5 separate regions of the Homo sapiens genome follow, and regions 1, 2, 4 and 5 are each linked to region 3. The links are contacts of gene promoters, found by promoter capture Hi-C in blood cells and fetal thymus (Javierre and others, 2016). All regions are on one chromosome and are shown on one strand. Each heading gives the region's core, a stretch centred on a gene start or on the middle of the fragment in contact. The rest is flanking DNA. Distances are from core to core; before and after follow the strand shown. Region 1 has its middle 1.5 kb from the start of CD244. Region 2 has its middle 23 kb from the start of SLAMF1. Region 3 holds the start of DEDD (death effector domain containing). Region 4 overlaps CD244 (CD244 molecule). Region 5 has its middle 1.6 kb from the start of LY9.

Region 1 (2,700 bases), core at 29-2,528, 270 kb before region 3:
GTTCCATTCCAACAGACATTGTGGAGGTGGAGTGGAGAGGGGCTGGAGGAGGAGTGGGCTGAAACGTAGGGCCCTGGATAAGCGGCTAACAGTGTTGAAGGAAAGGAGGAGTAGCTGAGAGAACATAGGAAGAGACCTAAGGGCTGGAGGCACTAGAAAAATCTAGCAAGCCTGGGGATTCCATGCAAGTTGACACCAAAGTTTAAGCACATGTAAATTAAATTTGTTTCATAAGAATTTGTTTCACACGGGGCACAGTGGCTCACGCCTGTAATCCCAACACTTTGGGAGACTGAAGCAGGCAGATCACTTGAGATCAGGAGATCGAGACTAGCCTGGCCAATATGGTGAATCCCCACCTCTACTAAAAATAGAGAAATTAGCCAGGCTGGGTGGCGTGCACCTGTAATCCAAGCTACTTGGGAGGCTGAGGCAGGGGAATCACTTGAGCAAAGGAGGTGGAGGTTGCGGTAAGCCAAGATCACGCCACTGCACTCCAGCCTAGGTGACAGAGCGACACTGTGTCTCAAAAAAAAAAAAAAAAATTTTGTTTTGCTCCACATTTCCGATCTGTATGCCTAGATTCCCTCCCTTCCTCTTTTTCTACTTTTCTATAGTAGTCCTCTCTTCCCTCTTTTGTCTTCTCCCAGAAGTGACATGGGCCTATTTTTGCTGCCTTCCCATCCATGCTTGGACGCCACCCTCCAGGAAGGCCAGGCAGCTCTGGATCTGCTTAGGCCCCCATGGAGGGGTGGGGACAGCGGCATCCCCCCTCCCCTGGAACACTGTGCTTCAAGGCCAGGCCCCAGGGTTCATGCCTCTTTCTTTCTTCCTTCTGCTTTCCCCTTAACAAATACTTTCAGTTCCCTTCAAGTCCGCTCTTATTCTCTTTTTCCATCCTTTGGTCCATTTCCAGCCACCCTGTCTGAACTGGGCAGGGGGCAGCAGACTGACAGCTTCAGCTGCCAACAGAGGCAGCAGCGGGGCTCTGGACAGAGCGCTGGATTTAGAGTCAAAGACTTGGACTTGCAGCTCCCATTCAGCAACTTACAACCTATGTGATTCTGGCCTTGTTGCTGTCTGAGCCTGTAGGGTCAACAATACATCCTCCCCACCTTCACAAGGCAGTTTTCAGGATCAAATTAAAAATGATACTCCAGAATATGCACACAAAAAACACTGGACATAGATGAGGTTTTTGTGGTTTTGTTTTCATTTTTTTAAGCTCTGAATAGCTTTTTCCAGCGGGTCTAATGGTTATCATCTCTTCTCTCCTTTGTCTGCTCCCAAGGGGCAGCCCTCAACCCTGGGGAATTTCTTCAGAGTTGATCTGGCCATGTCCTTAACCTTGAGAAGTGGTGCACAAGACATGATATAACAAAGAAGGGTAAACTTCCTCACACGACAGGTGGAAAACAAGATCCAGCTGTTGGAACCCACTAATGAATGTGAATTAGGAATCAGCCTCTCCAATCCTGACCCCAACACCAGCTCCATCCTTCCCACCAGGCATGTGGATGACCTATCATCCCCTGGAAACAGAACTCGGAGCAGCTGTACCACTGAGTGTGTGTCTGTCTTGTGGTCCCTGACAAACTCTATCACACAATATCTGCTATTTGTAGGCTGATCGCAGTGGCTCATGCCTATAATCCCAGCACTTTGGGAGGCCAAGGCAGGTGGATCACTTGAGGTCAGGGGTTCGATATCAGCCTGGCCAACACGGTGAAACCTCATCTCTACTAAAAATACAAAAATTAGCCGGGTGTGGTGGTGTGTGCCTGTAATCCCAGCTACTCGGGAGGCTGAGGCAGGAGACTCCTTTGAACCTGGGAGGCAGAGGTTGCAGTGAGCTGAGATTGTGCCTCTGCACTCCAGCCTGGGAGACAGAGCAAGACTCTGTCACAAAAAAAAAAAAAAAAAAAAAGGTGCTGGGCGCAGTGACTCACACCTGTAATCCCAGCACTTTGGGAGGCCTAGGTGGGTGGATTACCTGAGGTTAGGAGTTTGAGACCAACCTGGCTAACATGGTGAAACCCCGTTTTTACTAAAAATGCAAAAAATAAGCCAGGTGTGGTGTTGCATGCCTGTAATCCCAGCTACTTAGGAGGCTGAGGCAGGAGAATCATTTGAACCCAGGAAAAGGAGGTTGCAGTGAGCCGAAATCACGCCATTGCATTCCAGCTTGGGCAACAAGAGCAAAAACAAACAAACAAACAACAATAATAAAAAAAAAAAACAACCTGCCATTTGTTCTACACACTGACCTCCCCAGCCCTGAGCTCTTCAACACAAAGTCTATGCTCTCCTTAGCTTAGTGTTTCCAAGCCTCACCCAGCGCCTGGTTCTTCAGAGTTGATTCGTAGATTGTCAAGTGCTGAAGGAATGAATGAATTCTCTAAGGAAGACATTTCTATTTCCCCTGAGATAGACTGGTTAGCTGAGTCACCATGGACCCTGCCCTCGTGGAGTTTTTATCTTGCCCTTCCTAATTTTTGTGCAGAGAGTCCTTCTGTGCAACTCAGCCACTTTAGCACGAGGACCCAAGACCTACAAAATCAATATAAACCAGAGACTCCCTTAGCTACATTTCCCATACATATTCACGAGATCTTTATAAGTCTGGGACAGGGGACTCAGACAGGGGCATTTAAAGGTTAGCGGCCATCTGGGAATCAAAGGTTCATAAACCCCTGCCCA
Region 2 (2,700 bases), core at 143-2,642, 460 kb before region 3:
CCACCAAAGTAGCTGGGACTACAGGCATGAGCCACCACACCTGGCTAATTTTTTAAATTTTTTGGTAGAAACAAGGTCTCACTACGTTGCTGGTCTTGAACTCTTGAGGTCAAGTGATCCTCCTGCCTCAGCTTCTCAAAGTGTTAGGGTTACAAGAATGACCCACTAATCCCAGCCTATAGTTTCTTAAGGTAGGAGGTTAGATTATTGATTTGAGATCTTTCTGTTTTAATTTAGGCATTTACAGCTATAAAAGTTTCTCTAAGCATTGATTTCCTGCATCTCATAAGTTTTTGATATGTAATATTTTTAGTTTTATTCATCTCAAAGTATTTTGTAATTTCCCCTATGATTTATTCTTTGACCCATTGTTTTAGAAGTATGTAGCTTGATTTAGAAGTATGTAGCTTGATGAATTTTCCAAATATCCTTCTGTGATTGATCTATAATTTCACTCCATTGTGGTTAAAAACATACTTTTGACATTTCTGTAATTTTAGTCATTTCATATTTGTTGAGACTTGTTTTATAGCCCAACATATAGTCTATCTTGGAGAATGTTCCATGTGCATTTGAGAACAACAAACACATATTCTGCTGTTGTTGGGTAAAGTGTCCTATAGACTTTGGTTAAGTTTAGTTGGTTTATAATGTTGTTTAAGTCTTCTATTTCCTTGTTGATTTTATGTATAGTTGTTCAATCCATTATTGAAAATGGGATATTGAATTCTCCAGTTATTATTGTTGAATTGTCTATTTATCCCTTCAATTCAGTAAGTTTTTGCTTCATGTATTTTGGGGCTCTGTGCATATATATTAATAATTGTTATATCTTCTTGATGCATTAACTCTTATTATTATAAAATGTCCTTCTTTGTCTTTACAACAATTTTTGTCTTAAATCATATTTTGACTGATCTCAGTTTCTAAACCCAGCTCTCTTTTGGTTATTGCTTCCATAACATAATATACCTTTTTCCACCTTTTACTTTCAACCTATAGGTGTATTTGAATCTAAACTGTGTCCTTTGTACACAACATATAGTGGACCCATTTTTTTTAGTCCACTCTAATAACCTCTGCCTTTTATTTGTAATGTTTAATCCATTTATATTTAATGTAATTTCTGATATGGTAGGATTTATGTTTGCCATTTTCCTATTAGTTTTCTATAGGTTTTTTGTGTGTGTGTGTTCTTCTCTTTCTTTATTAGTGCCCTCTTTTGTATTAAATATATTTTTTCTACTGTACACTTAAGTTCCCTTGTCATTTTTTTTTTTTTACTGTATTTATTTTCTTCATAGTTGGTTTGGAGGTTACAATGATCTTAATTGCAATAATATAATACTTTGTTCTCACACAGCTTTTTCTCCTGCCCACATTTTTTGCTGTTATTGTCATACAAATTACATCTTTATACATGTGTGTCATTAACACAGATTTATAATTATTGTTCTATAAAATTGTCTTTTAAATCAGATAAGAGAAAAAAATTACAAACAAAAACTACACTTATATTGTCTTTTATATACATTTTATGTATCATATGCCAGGGCAGCATGCGCGAGCAAGCGCTGGGAGAGCGAGCGAACGGGGAGCGGAGGCGGCCTGACCGAGTGAGTGCCAGCGAGTGTGGAGTTAGGGGAAGCCGCCTACCCCCGACCCGCTTCCCCATTCCTTCTCTCCCCGTTCCCGTTTCTCCCCCCAACCACCACACCCCGCCCCCCGCCCCCCGAACTCCAAGCAGCACCAAGTCTGTGCCAACGGCTAAAGTCAGTAGAAAGGAGCTCAACTCCAACCGCAACCGGGCAGACGAGACCTCAGAAAAAGAATAGCAAGCAGCAATTGAACACATTTGTGAAGTACAAAATGAAACAGACTTCATGAACAAGCCAGTGAGGAGAATTTGAAAGTAGAACAGAAATAGAACAAACTCTGCCAATCATTTTTTCAGAAGAGGTCAGAATTGATCATTGATGGCCCAAATCCCACATTTTTGGGTAACATCATTTGTCAACCACCCACGAGTGTCTGCACTGCTTGTGGAGGAGGATGAAGAGGCACTGCATTATATGACCAGAGTTGAAGTGACATAATTTGAAGATACTAAATTAGGTTACAGAATAGATTTTTATTTTGATGAACATCCTTACTTTGAAAATAAACTCCTCTCCAAAGAATTTCATCTAAATGAGAGTGGCGATCCATCTTCAAAGTCCACTGAAATCAAATGGAAATCTTGAAAGGATGTAACGAATCGTTCAAGTCGAACGAAGAATAAAGCCAGTAGGAAGAGGCAGCCTGAGGCACCAGAGAGCTTCTTGACCTGCTTTACTGACCATTCTGATGCAGGTGCTGGTGAGTTATGAGAGGTCATCACAGGTAGTACTTGGCCAAACCCATAACAGTGCTGCTTGGTTCCCAATGTGGATGATGAAGAAGAAGGAGAAGAACAAGATGATGATGATGATGAAGAAGAGGAAGGATTATAAGATATTGATGAAGAAGGGGATGAGGATGAAGGCGAAGAAGAGGAAGATGATGATGACGTTGAGGAAGGAGAGGAGGATGAAGGAGAAGATGACTAACAGAACACTGATGTTCTGAACAATTTTTTTTTTAATTTTCTCCAGTCCCTGGGAGCAAGTTGCAGTCTTTTTTCTTTTTTCCCCTCTTGTGCTCAGTCGCGCTGTTCTTGAG
Region 3 (2,700 bases), core at 145-2,644:
CTACATTTGGCCCTTTCCCTTAACTAGCACACAATGAGAACAAAATATCTAATGGCGCAGCATCCACTCATACGTCTATGTTTCACCAGGGAAAAGTTTTTCTACATACAGTATCCATGTTACCCCCTCCCTTCCAGACTTAAAACAGCAAAAGGGTCTGGAAACTACAGCACTCATTTAATTAACCTGTCTAGATGCCACTCTATCTTTTCTCTTTCCCTCCTCAGACTTCCAGAGCCTCCACCTTAGCATATAGGGTTCCAATATAGCCATGTCTGCTCCCCCACTCTTGTATTGCTAATGCTAAAAACTAGAAAAGTCCTTTGCTCCTCCACACTTGGGCGACACCGGCTTCCCCATTTTCCCAAGCAGGAAAAACAAGGGAACAGTAAGCTAGGGAGTCTTTTGGAAAACAAACCCAGTTGAATTCTCATCCAACCCCAATTCTGCAAACCCACATGACCATTCCCTTCTGCCCTTCCCACCCTCTTAAAAGCTAAGGGCCTGGCAATTAGAATTGGCTGCAACTGATGCTGCTTAACTCTGTTCTCTCCTCCTCTCCACCGGGGAAAGGGAAACCCCCGAACCTCTATCACCCGTGCAGCTCCACTGTCCTATCTCCCATTCCACTCCCCTTCCTCCCAAACTTTCTTCCTCCCAGTCTCTCACTTTCTCCATTACCTCCTCCCACCGACACTCTCTCCATTCCCCAAGCCTCCGTTCTCTCCTTTTCCACCCAAATTCTCCCCTAGGCCCTTCCCCCTCCCACCTCCAATTTAACACTTTCGAAGCCCCCCAGAAACGTCTTAACTCCAATTCTGACCTTTACCCACCTCCTCGCAACACCCCTCATCAGAGTCCAGTCCTCCCTCCAACCACATGCCACAGCCCCCTTCCCCTTCACACCCTCAGCCTCTCCCTCCTGCTCCTACCCCCTTCAATACGAGCGGATCGCAGCCCCACTCCCCACCTCGGCCTCTCTAATACCCCTGGCTGGGCCCAGTCTCAGCCCTTGTTTACGCCCCTCCCCATGCCCTCACTCCTCCGTCTCGACCCCTGCCCTCTCCCGCAGTTGCCATCTCCCCTGCACGCCCCCCTCGGCAGCTCCCCTCCCCCACCTCTCAGCGTCCCGTCACCTCCCTCTCTTGAGGTTCTCAGGCTGGACGTCGCCACCGCCTCCCCCTCCACTTTCCTTCCCCAAGCCCTTTGCGGCCCCGCCCGGCCCCGCCCCGTCCCGCTCGACTCCCTCTCCCCACTCCGGCCGCCCCTCCGCCTCACTCTCGGCTCAGGCTCGGCGCCGCCATGTTGGATCCATCCGCGCCGCTCTCCCGGGCCTGCCTCACGGCGCCGCATCCGGGCTCCAGCAGCCGCCGCCGCCGCCGCCGCCGCGGCCGTGGGGGAGGGGACAGGCGGGCGGGGGTGGCTGCATCCTGAACGGCGCCTCCCGGAACCCGGCCGGTTAGTGGCGGCTTCGAGGCCATAGTGAGACATGAGCCGGAGTAGCCATAGTAAGTGAGGGCAGCCTGGCAGCGGCATTAATCGGGGAGTGGATAGCTTCACTTCGGGAGGAGAGATAGAGATTGGCAGCCATCTTGCTTTGGGGCAAGCTGGCAACGCCGGTTTGTCTTGACGGCTGCTTAGGGCGGTAATAAGGGATCGAAGAGGATAGCATTCTTGAATGGGAAACATTGGTGGCGCCACAGCTGGCTGGTGGCGACTTCAAGACCCACTGGAAGGCTGGGATTGGCAGCCATGACTCATAAGGGCGGAATACCACGGGGATCGGTTTGTCTGGCGAACTTGAGTGAAGGGTCAAGATCTGGATTTCACCTTTCCTCTGAGCTTCCTGATAACCCGGACGTTCCGTAAACCCGGATCCGGAGCCGAAAGTGGTGCCCAGATCCCGTCTCGGAATTCATTTGTTCAGCATTTACCTTTTGAACGCCGGTTTCCTGTAGGAAGTGTCGCCTAGCTGATCCGTGTAGGGCTGTTGGGAATTGGGGGTGGGGAGGATGGTGCGGGTACGTTCTGGTGTGGCTTAAGAAAGTGGTAATAGATAGGGGAAGACCAGATTATGCGAAGCCTTGTAAATTAATTGATTTTTATCCTTAAGGCAATGAAAAGTCTTTGAAGAATCTCAGCAGAGGTGTGAACAATTTCATTTGCATTTTAGATCGCTGCGTGCAGTGTGAAGGATGAATGAATTGAGGAGAATCAAGGAGAGCAGTTGTGAGGCTCTTTTCCAGGCAAGGATGATGATGGTCTGCCTGTGGAAGGGAGAGTGCGGATGGGGAGATACAGATTGGTTTAAGAGGTACGAATGTTGTGACTTGGACAACTGGGGAATAATGATACCAGTTTCTTTCTCGTTTAGGGGGGAGATAATGAGTTTTAGGTGCCCCTGGGATATTAGCTAATGTGGGTTGGGAACTCAAAAGAAAGGTTTGAGGTGTGTGTGCGTGTGCATATAGATAGCTGTTGAAGCCATGAAGTGGGCTGGAGAGGATACCTGCATTTGCGGGATAGGATGAGGGAAGCCGAAAAGAACACTGAGAAGGGGCAAACCGAAAGGAAAGAAGAAAACCATAGAGAACTATCAAGGAAACTGGTGAAAGCGTTTAGTGTAACAGAGATATAGTAAAATGCTAACTAAAATATATACATCAGGGCCGGGCATGGTGACTCACACCTGTAATCCTA
Region 4 (2,705 bases), core at 14-2,513, 300 kb before region 3:
GAGATGCAGGGAGAAAGTTTTTTCTCTGCAATTGAGTAAAGCCCAGGCCCTGGCCCCCACCCACGTGCAGAACCTGCCAGCCAGTTCACAGCCGGACAGTCCAGGCTTTCAGAGGAGGGCTGTTTCTTCTTCCCCTGAGTCACCATTATCATTCCTTCCTCTTGCTTTGGAAGATGGGCCTGGGCCGGCGAGAGTCTAGAAATGCAGTCAACCCAGAGAGGGGAGAAAAGGAAACAAGTGACAGCTTGAAAATCAGGTGGAGGGAATCTCGATGCTAATAACATCACTTACATAACACTTTCTAGATTACAAATACTTGGAATGTGGCCTTTTGTGAACAACCTAACCCCTCCACCCATTCATGTCTGATCTGTAAATTGGAAGATATTATTTAACAGCCTTGCTCTTATCATGGTTGTTAGACATCATTTTCAAAACAAAATATAGAACAAGAACAAATTTCCATATCCTCTCCAGACTAGGAACTGTTCTATAGAGACTCCTGTGCCGTCATCCACTGTGCCAATTCCCAAAGCAGATGCTGATGTGCAAGAAAGGTGAGAATTGCTGCAGCAACTAGGAATAAACATCAAAGTTCTCCAGCTCTTTGCGGCTCAATCGAGCAGGGTTCTGGGCTTTAGGTTGACTCTTTCCAATCTGCAAAAGAAAAGGAGAAACTTCAGACCCTTGCACTGGGAGGTCCTTATCACAATCCTGTGAGGTATGACTTGCCATCCCCATTTTACAGATTTAAAAAATGAAGCTCAGAGTGACAAAACAAATTACTCAGGATCCACGACTAGTGTGAAGTGCAGGAGGGACTTGAATCTAGTTCTTCTGGCTCCAATTCCAGTACTCTCTTAACCACATATGCTTTTTCATGACCTCACAAGCTACCTGGGTCTACACAGTGCCCTCTATGACCCTGGGTTGTCCAGTTGGCTTTAATGTTGGGTGATAGCTGAAGTGCCAGGAATTCCAGCAGGCAGCCACCCATCCCTCCCTTCTGACCAATGGCAGCATCTTTATTGGACCACAGGTGGGGAGGCTCAGGTGTAGTATGAGGCTAATGGGTAGTGGGGGAGGTTGGGGGATGCTCTCCATGCCTTAATTTCTCTGAGTATAAATGGAAAGTATAATTATACCTATCTTGTAGCATTCTGTGAGGACTAAATAAAATAATCCATGTGAAGACACTGGCAGGCTACCTTATCCATAATAAACCCCCAAGAAATGTTGAGTCCCTCCTTTCCAGTCCCTAAATGCTCTGATGGGAATCAATTCAACCACCAGGCTCAGTGGTCATCTCTGAACAGTGTTGACCCCTGAAGAAGATTAAGCTCACCTATGTCCTGGAATGGCTCCCAAAGACTTGCTAATTTTAGAAAATCATTTAGAGTCCTTTATCTTCCCCTCTCTGACCCCTCCTCCGAACACTCTTGGAAAGGAGAGATGTCCAGTTTGTGGCCCACAGCCTGGGAACTAGCTCGGGGACGGCCCTAATTTAAAACCCAAGCTGCCCAGTAAGTATCATATCTAAACACGCAATATGATCTTGGGTCAGACCCTCACTCTCCTTGGGCTTCAGTGTCTTCATCTCTAAAACAAAGACTTGCATTAGAAGATCTCTAAATTCCCTACAACTCTGAGACTGTGTGAATGATCTTTTCCTAAGTGTACCCTTTCATGGCTAGATTTCAGGGCTATGCAACAGACAGTAAACCCATTGAGGAGTTCCAGAATCTTACCACTTCATAGATAGTGCTATTGAAGGAAGGGCTGTGGTTCCTCTTCCTGGATCCAGACTAGAAATTCAGAAGGTAAAGAATACTTAACTTCGAGATAAGTGCTCTCCCACTCCTAAGTGATGTGAGAGGTCCCAAAAGAGACTCAGGGCCCAGAAAAATTCTGAGGCACTCTCAGCCAGAAAATGAATAGAATCTGTCACCCTAGGAGCAAAACAATGGTGTTTATGGTCTCCAGGGAAGACACAATATATACAGTATTTGCCTATAATATGATATTTCTGAACCAAAATCAGAATTTGCTGTTCCATACCCACATACACCTAAAACCCATACACATATGTGTGTGTGTGTGTATATATATATATATATACACACACACATATATATACATATTTGTGTATATATATACACACACACATTCCCAGAGCACACACACATACACATACACATACACATACACATACACACATATCCCTCAGGCAATCCTAATGCAAATACTGCCCCAAACCATGTATCTCTTCAACGCATGCATACACACACCCTTAATGTAAACAATCCAGGCATATAAATAATTGCCAACCCAAGGACACTAGAATTCAGAGGCACATTCAGTAGCATATAGAGTTTACATACACCAAAGCAGGTGAACATGGTGCCTGTGAACATCTATATGGCCTTATATTGTAGCATATAATTAAAAACAAATCTCTCTCACGATGGGATCCAAGTAGGTTGAATGGCTTATTGGAAGGAGGTTGAATGAAAAGTCTGAAAATCTGTCCTAAACCCCTTCAAACCTGTGGTCCCTGACCTGCATGGACTTCCACAGTTGTGTGGACTCCCAAATTCCCATACTACCATGTTAAGGCTTTCTGGCTTCACACTGTGGCTCCAGCCTTGGGAACACCACTCTTCCCATCCCCTTCCATACAAGAGAAAAACAATGACCATGTGTAC
Region 5 (2,700 bases), core at 135-2,634, 340 kb before region 3:
TTTGTTGCTACCCTCTAAAAGGCTGGTCTCATAGCCTATATCCCTAGATTCCACTTGAACACTGTGACATTCCCTAATTCTTCCCTCTACTGTGGCTGCAGCAGTTGATTTGATGTTGAATTTCTTTAGCTCCTAACATATATTTGTCTTTCCATCTAAGTGTAAAAAGCTTTGAGCTTGTCAAAATTCTACAGTCTTTCATATTCTTCCAATCTGTAGTAGCATATATATACTGCAAGTCAAGACAACATTAGAAATAAAGTCCAAAAAATGCAATTGTGTAAAATGCAGGGTCGTCTTAATTGCACAGTGAATGAAGTGTTGGTTGGGGGCTGGTGGTGAAGCAACACAGCTGAGTATGTGGTTGTGGCTGCCAGACCCAAATCTCAACCCAGGCTGGAGTCTGATGCTACCTGGAGGCAATGCCCAGTTGACAGGGGTGATTCTGGGCCTGTAGCTGGCGGGACTCCAAGGACAGTAGCAGGGATTTCAAAAATTTTCCAGTCAGTCACACCCACTTGCTGGGGTGGTTGAAGTATACTGAGAAGGACAACACTGGAGACGCCGGGGCCAGCATCACTGGATGTTGCTCCCTGATTCCCAATGCTAGTGCCTTTGCCTCCCTGTCCTGATGAGAATATTAGCCCTCCCCATGTGAGGACAGGGCACACTTAACAAATGCATCATACCAAAATTTATATTAATTTAGGTTTTACTATACTTAAATGATAATACTTAAATTGGATTTTGTGTATTATAAGGCTGTGTCCTCCTATGGTCACAACTTCAAAGGAGGTCATTTCAGTGATGTTACTTTCCTAAATCTCAGTTTTCTCATCTCTAAAATGGGGATAATTGGAGTATCATCCAAATAGGGTCTATCTTAGGATTAAAGGAGAAAACATATGTAAAGTTCTAAACACAGAGGCTCACTCATAGTAATTACCCAATAAATGTTAGTAATGATTTTTATTATTACCAATCTCTCTGAATTCCCTTCTGCCTTTGCCCTCGCCTCCCATGCAGACTGTTCCTGCTCTCATGTTCTGTACCCAGACTCCTTCAATAGCTTCCGCACCTGTCTTCTCATCCCCAGGCTCATCCCTTCCACCCATTCTCCCTCCACTCTGCAGCTCCAGGAAGCTTCCTACTCCTACTGGATTCTTGTTGCCTTTAGCTTGGTAACAGGATGCTTTATCTGGGCTCTGGTAACCTCTCCTGACCGTATGTCCTGCAATCCCCTCTAGACAGCCCATGTTCTAGTCACAGGACCAAGGCTAGAGTGAAACAAGACACGCTCCTAGTGCACAAAATTTAAAGATTTTCGAGATTCTGTCACTTTCAATATTGTGCAACATCAGATCATGACCAGCCTCTAAAGATGCTTTCCATGGACATAAGCCTGTTATCTTAATGGTTTCTCTCTCTCTCTCCCTTCTTCCTTTGAACCCAGACTTCCTGGGTTCAAGTCCTTACTAACTATAAAACTTATAGTAAGCTATTTAACCCCTCTCCACCTCAGTTTTCTCATTTATAGAATGGGGATGATAAAAGATATCTCATAAAACTATTGTAAGATCAAATGAGTGAATATGTTAAAGTGTCAGAAGATGGACTAGCACTCTGTAAGCTTTCATCGAATATTAGCTAAAACTACACATTCTGCCAGCCTCAAGTTTTCCTGCCAAGTCCCCTTAATGTTACAGCCTAAGTAAACAAATGACCTGAAGCCCGAAACACAAACCATAGCATGGCCAGCTATTACGCTACTGACAAGAAGAAGGAGGAGAAAAAGACAGTTTCCCAAGTCAGGATATAGGGAATCATGCCATTCTCCAGCCTACCTTTTCAACTCAGTCACCTCTACGCTGTCACATACGATGTCCACCCCCATTGCAGTCTCCCTGATGCCTTTGTCCATATTAAAAGTCCTTCATTGCATGTGACAGAAAGCTAGCACAAACTGCCTTGAGCAAAATAGAAAATGTATTGGGTCACTGTATTAGTTATCTGTTGCTGTGTAACAAATTGCCCCAAACTTCACAGCTAAAAACAATAAGCATTTTTGATGAAAAATAAAAAATTGAAAAAAAATTTAAAAACCAAACATTTATTATCTCACAGTTTCTCTTGATAAGGAATCTGGGCATGGCTTAGCTGGGTGCCTCTGGCTTAAGGTACTCACACAACTAACATCACGGTGTCAGCCAGGGCTGCAGTCATTTCAAGGACCTCCTGGGGAGGATCCACTTCCAGTCTCACTCATGTGATTCTTGGCTAGCCTCAGTCCTCATGGACAGTTGGCCAGAGGAATCAGCTCCTCGCCGATTGTTGGCTGGGGGCCTCCCTCTGTTCTTTGTTTTGGAACCCTCTCCCTAAAGTATCTCACAAAACAATACCTGGCTCCCCTCAGTGTAAGGTAGGGAGACAGAGATAGTGGGAAAGACAGAGAGGGAGAGAGGGCAAGAGAAAGAGAGAGCGCATATGCACACACATGCTAACCCAAGATGGAAGTCACAGCTTTTTTGTAACCTAATCTCAGAAGTGACCCATCCCACATCTCTGCCACATTCTATTCACTTGAAGCAAGTCACTAAATCCAGGCCACACTAAAGAAGAGGTGATTACACAGAGGCATGAATGCCAGGAGGTACAGATCTTTAGCAGTCACCTTTAGGAGCCAAATTTAGAACCCAAGTC

What was found. The method cuts DNA at HindIII sites, captures the fragments that hold promoters and counts their contacts. A CHiCAGO score of 5 or more calls a contact.
Region 1: a contact is called between a fragment that was not itself captured here and the fragment with the promoter of DEDD in region 3, in 1 of 17 cell types (erythroblasts). The highest score is 5.1, in erythroblasts.
Region 2: a fragment that was not itself captured here is called in contact with the fragment with the promoter of DEDD in region 3 in 1 of 17 cell types (neutrophils); the score reaches 5.8 in neutrophils.
Region 4: a fragment that was not itself captured here is called in contact with the fragment with the promoter of DEDD in region 3 in 3 of 17 cell types (erythroblasts, naive CD8 T cells and naive CD4 T cells); the score reaches 6.7 in erythroblasts.
Region 5: a contact is called between a fragment that was not itself captured here and the fragment with the promoter of DEDD in region 3, in 1 of 17 cell types (naive CD4 T cells). The highest score is 5.2, in naive CD4 T cells.

Annotation. Positions count from the first base shown.
Region 1 is chr1:160,863,075-160,865,774 of GRCh38, forward strand. No RefSeq gene overlaps it. Among named protein-coding and RNA genes, the nearest start is that of CD244, 1.5 kb to the left of the region's middle. The HindIII fragment of the contact is 2,876 bases long and covers 1-2,700 here.
Region 2 is chr1:160,668,397-160,671,096 of GRCh38, forward strand. It overlaps the pseudogene SETP9. Among named protein-coding and RNA genes, the nearest start is that of SLAMF1, 23 kb to the left of the region's middle. The HindIII fragment of the contact is 6,892 bases long and covers 1-2,700 here.
Region 3 is chr1:161,131,273-161,133,972 of GRCh38, forward strand. It overlaps DEDD (death effector domain containing), which reads right to left and starts at 1,395. Exons shown (of 6, transcript NM_032998.3): 1 at 1,279-1,395. RefSeq lists enhancers at 265-1,088, 1,550-1,859 and silencers at 910-1,129, 1,180-1,529. The HindIII fragment of the contact is 8,185 bases long and covers 1-2,700 here.
Region 4 is chr1:160,830,771-160,833,475 of GRCh38, forward strand. It overlaps CD244 (CD244 molecule), which reads right to left. Exons shown (of 9, transcript NM_016382.4): 8 at 1,749-1,805; 9 at 1-657. The coding sequence ends at 577. Among named protein-coding and RNA genes, the nearest start is that of CD244, 31 kb to the right of the region's middle. The HindIII fragment of the contact is 4,367 bases long and covers 1-2,705 here.
Region 5 is chr1:160,793,237-160,795,936 of GRCh38, forward strand. No RefSeq gene overlaps it. Among named protein-coding and RNA genes, the nearest start is that of LY9, 1.6 kb to the right of the region's middle. The HindIII fragment of the contact is 487 bases long and covers 1,142-1,628 here.